2 separate regions of the Homo sapiens genome follow, and region 2 is linked to region 1. The links are contacts of gene promoters, found by promoter capture Hi-C in blood cells and fetal thymus (Javierre and others, 2016). All regions are on one chromosome and are shown on one strand. The core of a region is centred on a gene start or on the middle of the fragment in contact, and the rest is flanking DNA. Distances in the headings are between cores, read along the strand shown.

Region 1 (6,515 bases), core at 1,084-3,583:
AGTCTAGCTGGGGAGCAAAGAAATTCATCCCTCTGTGCTGAGCTCTTATAGCACAATTTGAGAATTATTACACCCTTCAAAGTCCATTGGTACACACAGTCTACCTCAGAGCTGTAAGAAGGCAGGTTAGAGCCTTGATTGTACCTTCCCCAACAGCCAGCCTAGAAGCTAGCATGTGGCAGGTCCTCTTCAGAAGGGTGTAGAAAGAGGTCTGGAGAAGATGAAAACCTGAGCAGTAGCAGCAGAGATTAAGAGAAATGGGAAGGGGATGGGAGGTGAGGTGAAATGCCAGGTTTGATGATGCCAGCATTTGCATAAAGAATCCCCACACTCTAGGGCAGGGCACCGCATCCTGACTTGACTCATCCAGACCTGACCCATCCTGACTCATCCACCCTGCTTGCTCATCCCATCCTTTCCAGGAGAAAAGGTCTCTCTTTTAAAAAGGTCTTAACTGTAACCAACTTCCTCATATTGACAGTCACATCTTAGAACTGACAAATTCAGAACCTTAATCTGCCTCAGCCCAGCAATGGGAGAAAAAAGCCTAAGAAGCCCAATGCCCACCCTGCTAATAACTAATTTGGGAAAGGGGGCTGGCGGATAGTCCCCTCCTTTCTCTGTGAGGGGCTGAGGCTAGGAGTAGGGTGGGTGGCTTTCCTGATCCTACTGGCAAGGTTTTAAAGAAGCCAGAAATTAAGTTATCTGAGAAAAGGTCTCTGTAGCCTCCTATTTCAAGAGAGGAAAGTAGTCCTTTTCCAAACACCCTGACCTTGCTTAAGAGAAGAGAGAAAGAGACCTCCCCCTCATATTGTTCTGTATTATTTTATACTCAGTACCTGTTTTAAGAAGAAACAAGGAAGCAAAACCAAAGGCAGGCAGCCCGGCGCCACGCACCAGACCCAAAACCAGACCCAAAACCAGGCCTGGGCCTGCCTGACCTTAGCCTGATAGTTAAAATTAAACCCATGACCTAGCAACCGATGTTATCCATAGATTTCAGACATTGTATAGAAGGACACTGTGAAATCTCTTGTTCTGTTCTGTTCTGTTTCACTCTGACTACCGGTGCATGCAGTCCCTGTCACATACCCCCTAGATTGCTCAATCAATCATGGCCCTTTCTTGTAAAATCTTTAGTGTTGTGAGTCCTTAAAAGGGACAGAAACTGTGCACTCAACAAGCTCGGATTTTGAGATGCTAGTCTGCCGATGCTTCCAGCTGATTAAAAGCCAATTCCTTCACTACCTCTGTGGGGTTTTGTCCGCGGCTCCTCCTGCTACATGCTGACACGTCAAAACCAACAGTCATCAAGGACACACCTCTTTGGGGACCCAAATGTAGCTCAGTGAAGCTGGAGAGAAGTTCCGCTCAGATAAAACAACCCTTTCAACAAGGACAAACACAAGCCTTTCTCTAGCCTGGACCCAGCGCTCTGGGGGTCAGACACCCGGCCTTCAGGCAGGGAGGGGGTCTGGCCTAAAGAAAGGGTCCCAGCTGCAGAGTCAATGGAGCAAAGGCCCCAAAGGAACCAAGAAGTCAGAATCCTCGGTGGCATGAGAGCCACCAACCTGCTGGCTGATCAAGAGGGCAGAGGGCAGTTCTAGACCCTCCTCTGGCACTAAGTAGCTAGATGATCTGGGGCAAGTCACGTCTCTTCACCATCAACCGAGGGCTGTGAATTAGATAAGGGCTTCCCAAATGTAGTTAATTACCATATGACATCTGATGAAAGGCTGATTTTCAGGCCCACTCCCACACCGTCCTAATTGCTATTTTGGGGAAAGGGGCCTGAGAATCTAGATTTTTAAAAAGAGCGCGGACGACCCCTACCCTCAAGCCACAATTCTGATAATCGCCCAAACCTGAAAAAACCTGGCTCGATAAGGTCCCCTGTGCTGCTAAAAAGTCCACGGAACAACGACAACAACTAAAGTCTGCTATCCTGGCACGACCTCCCCGCCGGCTGGCGTTCTCCCAGGCGTGACGCGTGGGAGGCCTGATCTCACCGGGAAGGACTCGGGCGTTGGTCACTTGCTGGCCGCGGCAGCTGGGCCGAGTCCCAACGACCAGCGCCGCCCCCTCTGGCCCTGGACCCCCGAGCAGAGCGAGGGCTGGAGACAGGCGGCGCCCGGCCTGCTTTTCTGCGGGCCGGTAGGGCAGGGTCAGCCCAGTTCAGGCGTCCCCGCCGCAGGCCGGGGCGGAAACAACGCGCGGGGACCTGCGACCCGGGACACGCGGCCTCAGCCCGCCCGACCCCGCCGCCCCGGTGCAGGGTCCTGGATCTCACCTGAAGCCCCGCGTGTCTCTTCCGGTCTGCACGTGGCGTCCGGAAAGCCGGCAGCTCCCACATGCCCGGGCAAGCCCGGCTCCGACTGCCCGCCTATTGGCTCGCTGGACGGCAGCGCCCGCCCAAGACCTCTTCTGATTGGTCGAGCCTGCCTGGCAGCGGGGAGGCGGGCGAGAGCAGAAGGGGAGGGACTCCTGAAGAGGGCGTAACTCGTGCTGCGAGCCGGCCATACTGGCGGGAAATTTTAAAGAGAAGGGAAGGGAGACTGACCTCCTGTCGTCCCTGCCCGGTCCCATCAGTGTTCCCCGGCTCCAATCCACTCCTCTACCTGGGTCGGGATGTGGGCTCCTGTAAGCCTGGTACCACCAAAGGCCGAATGACTTACTGAGTACACCCACATCTGCAGATTGGGAACATCGGCCCTTACCTCCTCGGGTGTTCTGGGATTCAAGGAAATAATATACACAGTAGGCACTAAAGAGAGACTTTGAAAGTCAGGTTTCCTCCGTCAGCGCTGCTTTTTCATTTATTCTTTTGCAACACTTGACTCCTAAGTATTAAGTTCCTACGTGGGCTTGGCAGTGGGATGCACACAATAAACACATAAGCATCCTGAGTTGTTTATCTAACAGCAGGGAAACAGCAAGGTTAACAGAAAATTCAGTGCAACATGAGGCCGGGGCGCGGTGGCTCACGACTGTAATCCCAGCACTTTGGGAGGCCGAGGCAGGTGATCACCTGAAGTCAGGAGTTTGAGACCAGCCTGACCAACATGAAACCCCATCTCTCCAAAAATACAAAAATTAGCCGGGCGTTGACGGGAGCCTGTAATCCCAGCTACTCGGGAGGCTGAGGCAGGAGAATCGCTTGAGCCCAGAAGGCGGAGGTTGCAGTGAGCCGAGATCGCGCCATTGCACTCCATCCAGCCTGGGCACCAAGAGCAAAACTCCGTCTCAAAAAAAAAGAAAGAAAGAAAGAAAGAAAATTCAGTGTAACATGAGTAATAACAAGAACAATAATAAACAGTTCACACGTATTATGTGAGCACGAATGATGTGCCAGGCAAAATACTCAGTTAATTTGTACAATGACCTTACTATTATTTCAGTTTTACAGTTAAGGAAATTGACACTTAAATTAAGGAGAAACACCTAGAATCCAAAGATCCTTACCTAAGCAGTCTGACTTCTCTTAGTTCACATTTTGCAAGCAGAAGTGATTTGGAAACGTACCTGTGATGAGAAATAAGCTAGGAGCTCTTTCTGATGGGAGTACAAATTTGAGGGAAGCAGGACAAGGGATGAGGTCACAAGAGAGATCAATCCTTTTACCCAGGCCCCTGAAGGCTTTGGGGAGGCAGAGGGATTTAAGCCATAGATAGTTTACCAGTGAATCTGCATTTGAAAAAACTTGTTCTGGCTGCAGCATAGAGAGGAATGGATGAGGACTGGAGAAAGGAGTGGGGGAGTGTTTGTGGAAATTTGGAAGATCATGATGTCCAGAGTGGTGTGGAGGATAAAGAGCTCCCCACCTAAGTAGCATTTGAAATGACAGATTCAAATGCTACTTAGGAGGCAGCGTTGATCAGAGAGCAGAGGGGAAGGGGTTATAGGACAGCGGTCTTCAGGCATGGGGACTGTGGGAGGTAAATCTGGGGCAAGGAGAGTTTTTTTTGTTTTGTTTGTTTTTGTTTTTGAGATGGAGTCTCACTCTGTCACCCAGGCTGGAATGCAGTGGCACAATCTCGGCTCACTGCAACATGTGCCTCCCGGGTTCAAGTAATTTTCCTGCCTCAGCCTCAGGAACAGCTGGGATTACAGGCACGTGCCACCATGCCCAGCTAATTTTTGTATTTTTAGTAGAGATGGGGTTTCACCATGTTGGTCAGGCTGGTCTCGAACTCCCGACCTCGTGATCCACCCACCTTGGCCTCTCAAAGTGCTGGGATTACAGGCGTGAGCCACCACACCCAACCAAGGAGAGTTTTAAGAGAGTCAATATCCAGATCCTCTGCTTCCATGGTGCTGGGCCTCAGAATATGCCTGGGGTCTTTGGGGTTCAGCTTCCCTCTCCTCATGTGTAACCAGCTGTCTCCCACTTTTCAAAGGCAATTCACACTGCACCTGTTCTAAATCTTGCTCTGCTGCATTACCTTGGGAAATAAAAGTCTCCAGGAGAAACAATAGGGCAATTCTAAATAATGTATTAATTATTGTTGAGGACGGGGCAAGAAATCCTTCTACAAGTCAGGTGGTTTCTCATTCTTTGCTTTCACCAAGATCCAAGGAGGATCTAATCATGTTGTTAGGTCATTAAAAACATTTTCTTGAGACCAAGGCTGGAGGACTGCTTGAGGCCAGGAGTTTGAGACCAGCATGGGCAACATAGCAAGATCCTGTCTTCACAAAAATAAATAAATGTGGAGGTGTGTGCCTACAGTCCCAACTACTGGGGAGGCTGAAGTGGGAGGATCCCTTGAGTCCAGGAGTTAGAGGTTACAGTGAGCTATGATTGAGCCACTGCACTCCAGCCTGGGTGACAGAGCCAGACAGACCCTGTCTCCAGTAAACAAATAAATGAATAAATAAATAAATACATGAGTATAGATAATTATCAGGAATTTAAAAGAAGTGGGAGAATTGCCAGACTAAAACCCTTCCCATTTCTCTATGGTTTTAATGTAAACAATGTTTATCAGGCTTACAACTATAAAATCAAAACAACAGACTCACCTCTGTCTCATTCTTACAAAAAGTGATACTCATCTCTGGACTCACAAATTTATGGAAAAATAACTGGCTCAATCCATCTCCTTCAAAGATATATTTTCCATGACATTTTAATGAAGATTAATTAACTTGTATGTTTAAAGATTCTCTCATATAATGAAATGCTATGCATGTATTTTAATCATATGTACTACTAATAATTACAACAACATTTCAATCTAGAAGGAAAAAAAATTAACCCTTAGAACCTCATGGTCACAGAAAATTTTTTAGAGTTAACAAGTTCAAATTTATCTGCATAATTGTGTGACAGAAATGTACAATAGGGTGCTTCATAAAATATTACCAAGCATGAAAATATATTATGCTTGGATAAAACTCCGTAGCAGAAGCTGAAGAAGAAAAAAAGAATGTTGCATATTATGTCAAATAAAAAAACAGACCCAGATTTGATAAAGAGAGATTTTATTTAAAAGGATGATTTTGGGGTGGGGTGAGGGTGGTAAGACTCTGTAAACAGGGAGAACACTCAGGCCATAAATCTACAAACTCTCAAGGGGTAGGCAAAAAGGGATTTTCTTTTATAGGAAGGAGTAAACCAGTCTAGAAAGAACCTGGTGTAGGTAAGTGGGATGAACGAGAGTGACAGGGTGGGGCAGTAGATCAGAGATTGCTTTATCCTGAGGCCAGCCTGTTCTCAAGGGGGCTGTTACAGAGGGATTTCATGCTGGTTTAGGCTGAGGGTGGGCCAAAATTCAGAGGCCTTGGGGAAGGACAAAAGCTTAACCAAAGTTTCATTAATGAGCATTTTTTTCCAGCTGATCAATGGGCCAAGCATTTCAGCTAGTCACTTATGAGGCAAATGGGAATTGGGGCTATCTGTATCCGGTCTAGTAACAGGGTATAGTGGGGAATCGCCATAGAGGGGAATCCATGAGTTTTATCTCAGTCATTGCAGTGAGCCATTTCCAGAACCCGAGAGACGGGGTTGAGGTGGGGTTAGGGGGTAAGGGGTTAATCATTGCTGTTCTCTAGGAGCACAGTGCTTAGGTAAAACTCAACATTGTCATAAATAGTTTTTTCATGTACTTTAAAAATGAAGGCCGGGCGCTGTGGCTCACGCCTGTAATTCCAACACTTTGGGAGGCCAAGGCGGGTGAATCACCTGAGGTCTCAAGTTTGAGACCAGCCTGGCCAACATGGTGAAATCCTGTCTCTACTAAAACACAAAAATTACCTAGGTATGGTCGTGGGCACCTATAATCCCAGCTACTCAGGAGGCTGAGGCATGAGAATCTCCTGCACCCCGGAGATAGAGGTTGCAGCGAGCCAAGATTGCACCACTGCCCTCCAGCCTGGGCAACAGTGCAAGACTCTGTCTCAATAAATAAATAAAGAAGCTAGGCAAGGTGGCACATGCCTGTAGTCCCAGCTACTTTGGAGGCTGAGGTGGGAGGATCACTTGAGAAGGGCAGGAGTTTGAGACCACAGTGCAC
Region 2 (6,515 bases), core at 1,152-3,651, 2.9 Mb after region 1:
TGTGTAAGTCTAAATTACAAATAAATACATTAATAAAGCCCCTAACAGGGGTTACAAAATTTGTATGACTGTAATAAAGCACAGAATATAAAATCTGAAAAGCTTAACTACGCTGGGCTTTTTGCACCCCATTCTCTGAGACAGGAACCACACATGAAAGGTCACTGGAACCCCCACATGCACCTCTGGGAACTGTGACTTAAGAGAAAATGGAGACTTCTTGAAAGATAAAGCAGAAACCACAATTTGGCAAGGACAGCATTTTATCTCAATTCCTTTACTTTTCACTCCCTTGGCCTACAAGGGCCACTGACGTAAAAACCCAAGCCTCTGTGTCTCAGAAGGCTTACCATCAGCTCTCAGCGCTGCTATAAAGTCACATAACAGAACTGTTCCAGGAAGCCAGAGGTAAAGCAGAAACAAATGAAAGATCGGCCTGTGGGGACACTCGAGGAGACACTCTCATGGGAAGGGCTCACTCAGGAAATCAACCACAGATACCATTCACTAGGCAATGCCTCACAGACTGATTCAGGAAGCATCACAGGTCCTGTCTACATCAACTCACCAGTTAAGGGCCAACATCTCTTTTGGGCCAACATCTCTTTTAGCCCAGACACATGGATTTGTGGGGGACTGGAGTGATGATGGGGAGGGAAGGAAACCAGAAAGGAGACTGCTAGAATCCCAGACCTCAAAGGCCTATTCCATGCCTTTTGTAACACTTCCTTTAACACCCACTTGGTTCACAGGTCTCCTCCTTAATACCACTGGCACAGTGTATTGAGACTCTCTTAGGTTTTTCTCTATCCCCTCTCTGGGGCAGGGACCATTCACCCACTGCTGAATCTTCAAATTAAGACTCTCCAGCATAGTGCCTAGCTCATGCATCCTATTCAAATGCTCCTCTCTCGGCCCTACTATGCCTATTTAAACTAAAATTAGATGAATGCGCTGACACAGCCTTGATTACAGTATGTCAAACATCAATTTAGTAACACAAAAGGACAAACAGCTGTCAAACTAAATTTGACGTAGGTCCTGGCTCTGCATGTATGTATGTACTAGTATGACCCTAGTCCCTTCTTGACAGGCCTCCGTTTCCTCATCTATAAAATTAAAAAGGAGGAATCACATTTTCCCCCAGGTTCCCTCTGCTGTGATTCTATCAGATGGGTAAGTGAGTTTCAGGCTGCTGGACCCACAGCAAGAAGCATAACAAAGTGGTCGAGGCAAACGGCTTTATTTATTTTCTAGTAAGCCAAAACATGTTTCTGCCCATCCTCACGAGCACTATTCTTACTCAGGGTGTATGGTGCACCTCCCCTCCTCTGCCACAGAGATGCCCAGGACTTGCAGCTGGCATGCTCCTTTCTGGTTTCTTCCTCTCCCATTAGTTGATCCATCATATCCTTCCCATGCACAGACTTGAAAGCCCACCCCACTCAAACCCTTTCTCTTCACAAATCCCCACTCAGCTAAAGTCTTTCAAATACATCATCTTTAAGTCCATTTCTCTTTCCCTTCTACAGAAAAAGTATAAAAAGACTATGAAAAGGCAAAGTCAATGATTAGTAGATCTATGTTTTTCAGCGTGCTGAATCCTCAATATATAATGCTGAAGAGAATAAAGCAAATTACAAAAAGAGGTACTGTATGGTAGTATTTATGTAGGTTAAAAACAAAAACAAATTATATGTTGTTTATGTATGAAAATAAATTATAAAACACAGACTACGAATGCACTGAATTCATGACAGTCCTTGTCCTTGGGGAGGAAGGAAGATGCATGGGGCAGGGAAACAAAGGGGAATCTGAACTTAACCATAATGGTTTCTTAAAAAGTGAAACAATCTGAAGCCGTCTGACAGAATGTTACTATGTGTTCATTCTGAATCATGGACACATATGTGATAAATTACCTATGTATAATACTTTGTATTAACATTTTTCAAAATTAAAAAAAATTTTTAATTTTTAAAAAATCATCACACTCTAATGTCGTTCAAAGTTCCTTGGATTTGCTTATAAACATTTCCATATCCTTTTGCATAATCCATTTATCGCATCTTGTGATAACTTAAAGATAAGATTTTATTGTCTTATAATCCAGTTAAAAAAGTATATTTTTTTTCTTTTGTTTTATTGAAAATCTATAATATTTTAGGCACCTAAGGGCAACACAGGAGGTGGCAGATTTGCTGGAGAACCAGCTACTAATTCTGATCTGCAAAAGTGACCAAGAACACTATGGGCAGAATTTGTTTCCAAGTTCTGTTCTTTCTGTTCCTTTCTTCCCAACCAGTTCCAACACCCTACAGAGATTTAAGCAATGATGATTTTTAAGGGAGTGGCACTATCACGTAAAAAGGTTTCAGCAATATTCAAACTCTCAGGCCAGTGTTTGAGTGTCTGAGATGAACATAGAAGCAGAAAAAAATCATTTAAAATGTGCTTCTAGTAAAGAACTTTTCACATAAATTCACTTTTAATTAATTGAAACATGTCCCCAAACCCACAACCCAGCTGGAAGTTTAACACGCTCTATATTATGGTCATGAGTTTTCTCTTAGTGATAGTTTGCATGGACATCTCCTTAACATGCTGAAGTACCTACTTGAAAAACACTCAACTTGTTTCCAAGTTGTCCTGGACTCAATTCACAGTGACAGTTTTAGAGCTGTGCGTGGGTGATTTAGAAACTTCAGCCCCACTGACATCAGCCAAAGTCATGAGACTAAAATCTTACTCTCTGTTTGGGAAAACAGAAAATTACCAAGAACACAAGAATTGAAGACAAATCTAATACATTTTTAAGCTCTCTGCCACAAACCATACCATGTTGTTATGAAGATCAGAAAATAATTATCTGGCCTTTTATTTATTTATTTGATAGATTTCCTAATAGCAGTAGGCAATATGCTTTCATTTTTTAAAATTCTTCAAAAAGGTCTCAGCACAGTGGTTTATGGGAACAGAGCTGATCCCTAATCGGATTCCTCTGTACCTAAAACAAACAGTCCAGCCTTCAACTTCTTTCTTTGCTACAAGGAGGCATCAAACCAAAGAAAATGAAGTTAAACCCACATGACTGGAAACTATCATCTATCTATTGCTGTATCTTTTTTTTAACCCATGCCACCAACCACCACAGATCTTTGGCGAATGGTTATATACTATGTGTTTTTTATCTTTCGGAAGAAAAATAAAACAAACCATTAGCGAGGCTAACTTAAGAAAATCAACTTTATACAATGATAAGAGGAGTGGCCATGCCAAACTGAAATGAAATGACAGAATATCAAAGGACTGCCTACACAGAAACGAGCCACCTTTGGGAGCTGAGTCATATGCAGCCAAGGCTCTGACAAAAAAGGTCTTCCAGTACTTCAGTTCATTGATCATCACTTGGGAATAGGCTGAAGACTTCTGACTGTTCTGCCTACAGATGTGAGCAGCAAAATCTAACTGGGAAAAATGACCTGATTCTTCTCCAGGACACAAGTTGAGGAATTACCTTTAAGGATAGAAATGCACAACTTTCTCCTATCATTTCAACTCTAACCAAGAAAATGAAAATAAAACAAAAAACAGTTAAATATGAGCAAATTTAGAAATGCATGCTACAAAATTCTTTCTGCAACTTTAAACTTCTTGTTTAAAATCTTTAACAGAGACCCTGTCTCTCAAAAAAAAATTATTAAATATATGTGTGTGTATATATATATATATATATTTTTTTTTTTTGAGATGGAGTCTTGCTCTGTCACCCAAGCTGGAGTGCAGTGGTACGATCTTGGCTCACTGCAACCTCTGCCTCCTGGGTTCAGGTGATTCTGCTGTCTCAGCCTCCTGAGTAGCTGGGATTACCGGTCCATGCCACTACGCCTGACTAATTTTTTGTATTTTTAGTGGAGATGGTATTTCGCCATGTTGGCCAGGCTGGTCTCAAACTCCTAACCTCAGGTGATCCACCCGCCTCAGCCTTCCAAAGTGCTGGGATCACAGGCGTGAGCCACGGCACCTGGCCAATAAATAAAATCTTTGGGGGATTTGAGACATCGCCCTATCTGGACTAAGAGTGCTTATATGCAAAAGGCATGTGAGATGTTCTTGGTAGCTGGTGTAATAACCACAGTGCTGATGTACAGAACAAGAAGAAAGCCACAAAAAAGAGCCAAATCATCTCAGCTGAAGTAGCCCCAGCAGCAGTTTTCGTAACAACACTGGTAAACAAAAATGAAATAAAATGAAAGTATTCTGCTTAAAAAAGAATTGCCTTTATTGCTTAGGGTCTTTTTTTACCTTCCTTTTCCCTAAGTAATAAACTTCCTTCCTTTAATCAACTATATGTATTTTATTCTCTCATATAAGCAATGAACTATAAATGCCAGAAAACTGTCTAGAGGGCAACTTTTCTGATGAAATCAGAAGTAAAATCTAACCATCACACACATTCTAAATTCTTATGTTTCCTACTTAGATTGCAGCTGGTTTACTTGTTTATTTTTTATGTAAAAGAAACAACCTACCACAAAAGTACTGAAATGCTGCTAGCACAACAGAAAATAAATCAGCAATAATCTCAGTATCATTTTACATCTGTTTAAAGCAAGCAAAACAGAACCACTGGCAAGACCCCAAAACCTGAACATAACAAATTCCTTATTCTGAAAGACCCCACTAAGTCACTAAGCTTTTCAAAGAACAAATTATTTGTGGCAGCTGGAAAGAACAGCTGACTATTCAAGGACAGCTTTACATAATAGAGAAATAAGAGTTGAAAAGACATTCCTCTATTAACCCTGTTAAAGTCACCTAATCCTAAAGCAAGAGTAGCGTTTTGGCTGAGATAAAAAGTCCCAGTTTCTTGTATAAACCATCATAACATATCATCATGATGGACTATATGGCTGATCTTTCTAACCACAAGTCAAAGGTGACTATGCAGTGCTGAGGGTATGAAGCTCTATCCAGGGGTCAGCCAAACAGGGTTACACTTAACCACAATGGGAAGCCACTGTCTCCTAAGAGCACAAAGGTTTCCTAGGAGGTAAACGACTAACTGCATGGATGCTACATTTCCTACGACTCCTGGGAAGATCCTGGACATGAGACGCGATGGAGGGAAGTGACGAAAGATTCTGCGTCCCCAAATTACTCATATTTTCTACTTCCTGCCAAGATAACACATGGGACTTCCTACATACAAACATTCAGCTTCTTCAGGAAGCTGAAGATAATCAGCCCATTACTTTGGTTCCTTTGAGAAGATGACTACATACTATTTTGTTGCTTTCAATCCTTTTCACTCCTTTTGTGTGTGTGTGTGTGTGTGTGTGTGTGTGTGAGTCTTGCTCTGTCACCCAGGCTGAAGTGCAATGGCGCGATCTTTGGCTGACTGTAACCTCCGCCTCCCGGGTTCGAGCAGTTCTCCTGCCTCAGCCTCCCAAGTAGCTGGGGATTACAAGCGCCCACCATCATGCCCAGCTAATTTTTTGTATTTTTAGTAGAGACGGGGTTTCACCATGTTGGTCAGGCTGGTCTTGAACGCCTGATCTCGTGATCCACCTGCCTTGCCCTCCTAAAGTGCTGGGATTACAGGCGTGAGCCACCGTGCCTGGCCTACCCCCTTCTTTTTATAAGAGGCAGGCTGCAGACTGTCTTACATAAACCTTAATGCTATCACCAGATGTTGAGACTATTTCTACATTACTTCTGGAGTAGGGTGGTATGCAAATTAAAGAATGTATTTTTGAAACTTAGTGCATATTAGGGTAACAGTCAAGCCCAACTTAAACTATTCCTTTTTGCTGTCTGATACTTTTCAGTTTAAACCTCAAATATAGCCAGGCATGGTGGCTCACGCCTGTAATCCCAACACTTTGGGAGCCTGAGGAGGGTGGATCACCTGAGTCAGGAGTTCAAGACCAGCCTGGCCAATATGGTGAAACCCCAACTCTAATAAAAATACAAAAAAAAATTAGCCAGGTGTGGTGGCGTGTTCCTGTAGTCCCAGCTACTTGGGAGACTGAGGCAGAAGAATCGCTTGAACCTGGGAGGAGGAGGTTGCAGTGAGCCGAGATTGCGCCACTGTACTCCAGCCTAGGTGACAGAGTGAGACGCCGTCTCAAACAAACAAAAAACAAAAAAAACCCCTCAAATATGTTAACTCTTTTTCCTGGTTTTTGCTGAGCAGGTAGAACTAAGATAATCTCTGATATTTGATTAGATCAAGCCATTACCAAAAATCAAAGAACAACTAGCAAAGGTTATTATGACCCCTGTCCCCACCGACAGACTTCCCAAACAGAAAAGACTTTAGTCTAGTGATAACACACTGGACTTCATGAAATAACGTGCCTCCAGAAAAAGCAAATTCCTTGGGTGACTTCATATTAAAAAAAGTCCCATTCCACTTATAAACACTATTAGCACAGAACCAGTAGCCAATCCACTATTTCACTGGTTTTCCAAAATACTAGAAAAACTCTAAAAAGTCTTATATGAAATAT

What was found. The method cuts DNA at HindIII sites, captures the fragments that hold promoters and counts their contacts. A CHiCAGO score of 5 or more calls a contact.
Region 2: a contact is called between a fragment that was not itself captured here and the fragment with the promoter of AEN in region 1, in 1 of 17 cell types (erythroblasts). The highest score is 7.8, in erythroblasts.

The regions. Positions count from the first base shown.
Region 1 is chr15:88,617,158-88,623,672 of GRCh38, reverse strand. It overlaps AEN (apoptosis enhancing nuclease), which reads right to left and starts at 2,333. Exons shown (of 4, transcript NM_022767.4): 1 at 2,291-2,333. RefSeq lists enhancers at 1-802, 2,289-2,448, 1,778-2,451, 2,452-3,125 and a silencer at 2,079-2,268. The HindIII fragment of the contact is 13,176 bases long and covers 1-5,802 here.
Region 2 is chr15:85,701,075-85,707,589 of GRCh38, reverse strand. All of the region lies in intron 17 of AKAP13 (A-kinase anchoring protein 13), which reads right to left. Among named protein-coding and RNA genes, the nearest start is that of LINC02883, 54 kb to the left of the region's middle. RefSeq lists an enhancer at 1-242 and a silencer at 2,609-2,738. The HindIII fragment of the contact is 4,594 bases long and covers 105-4,698 here.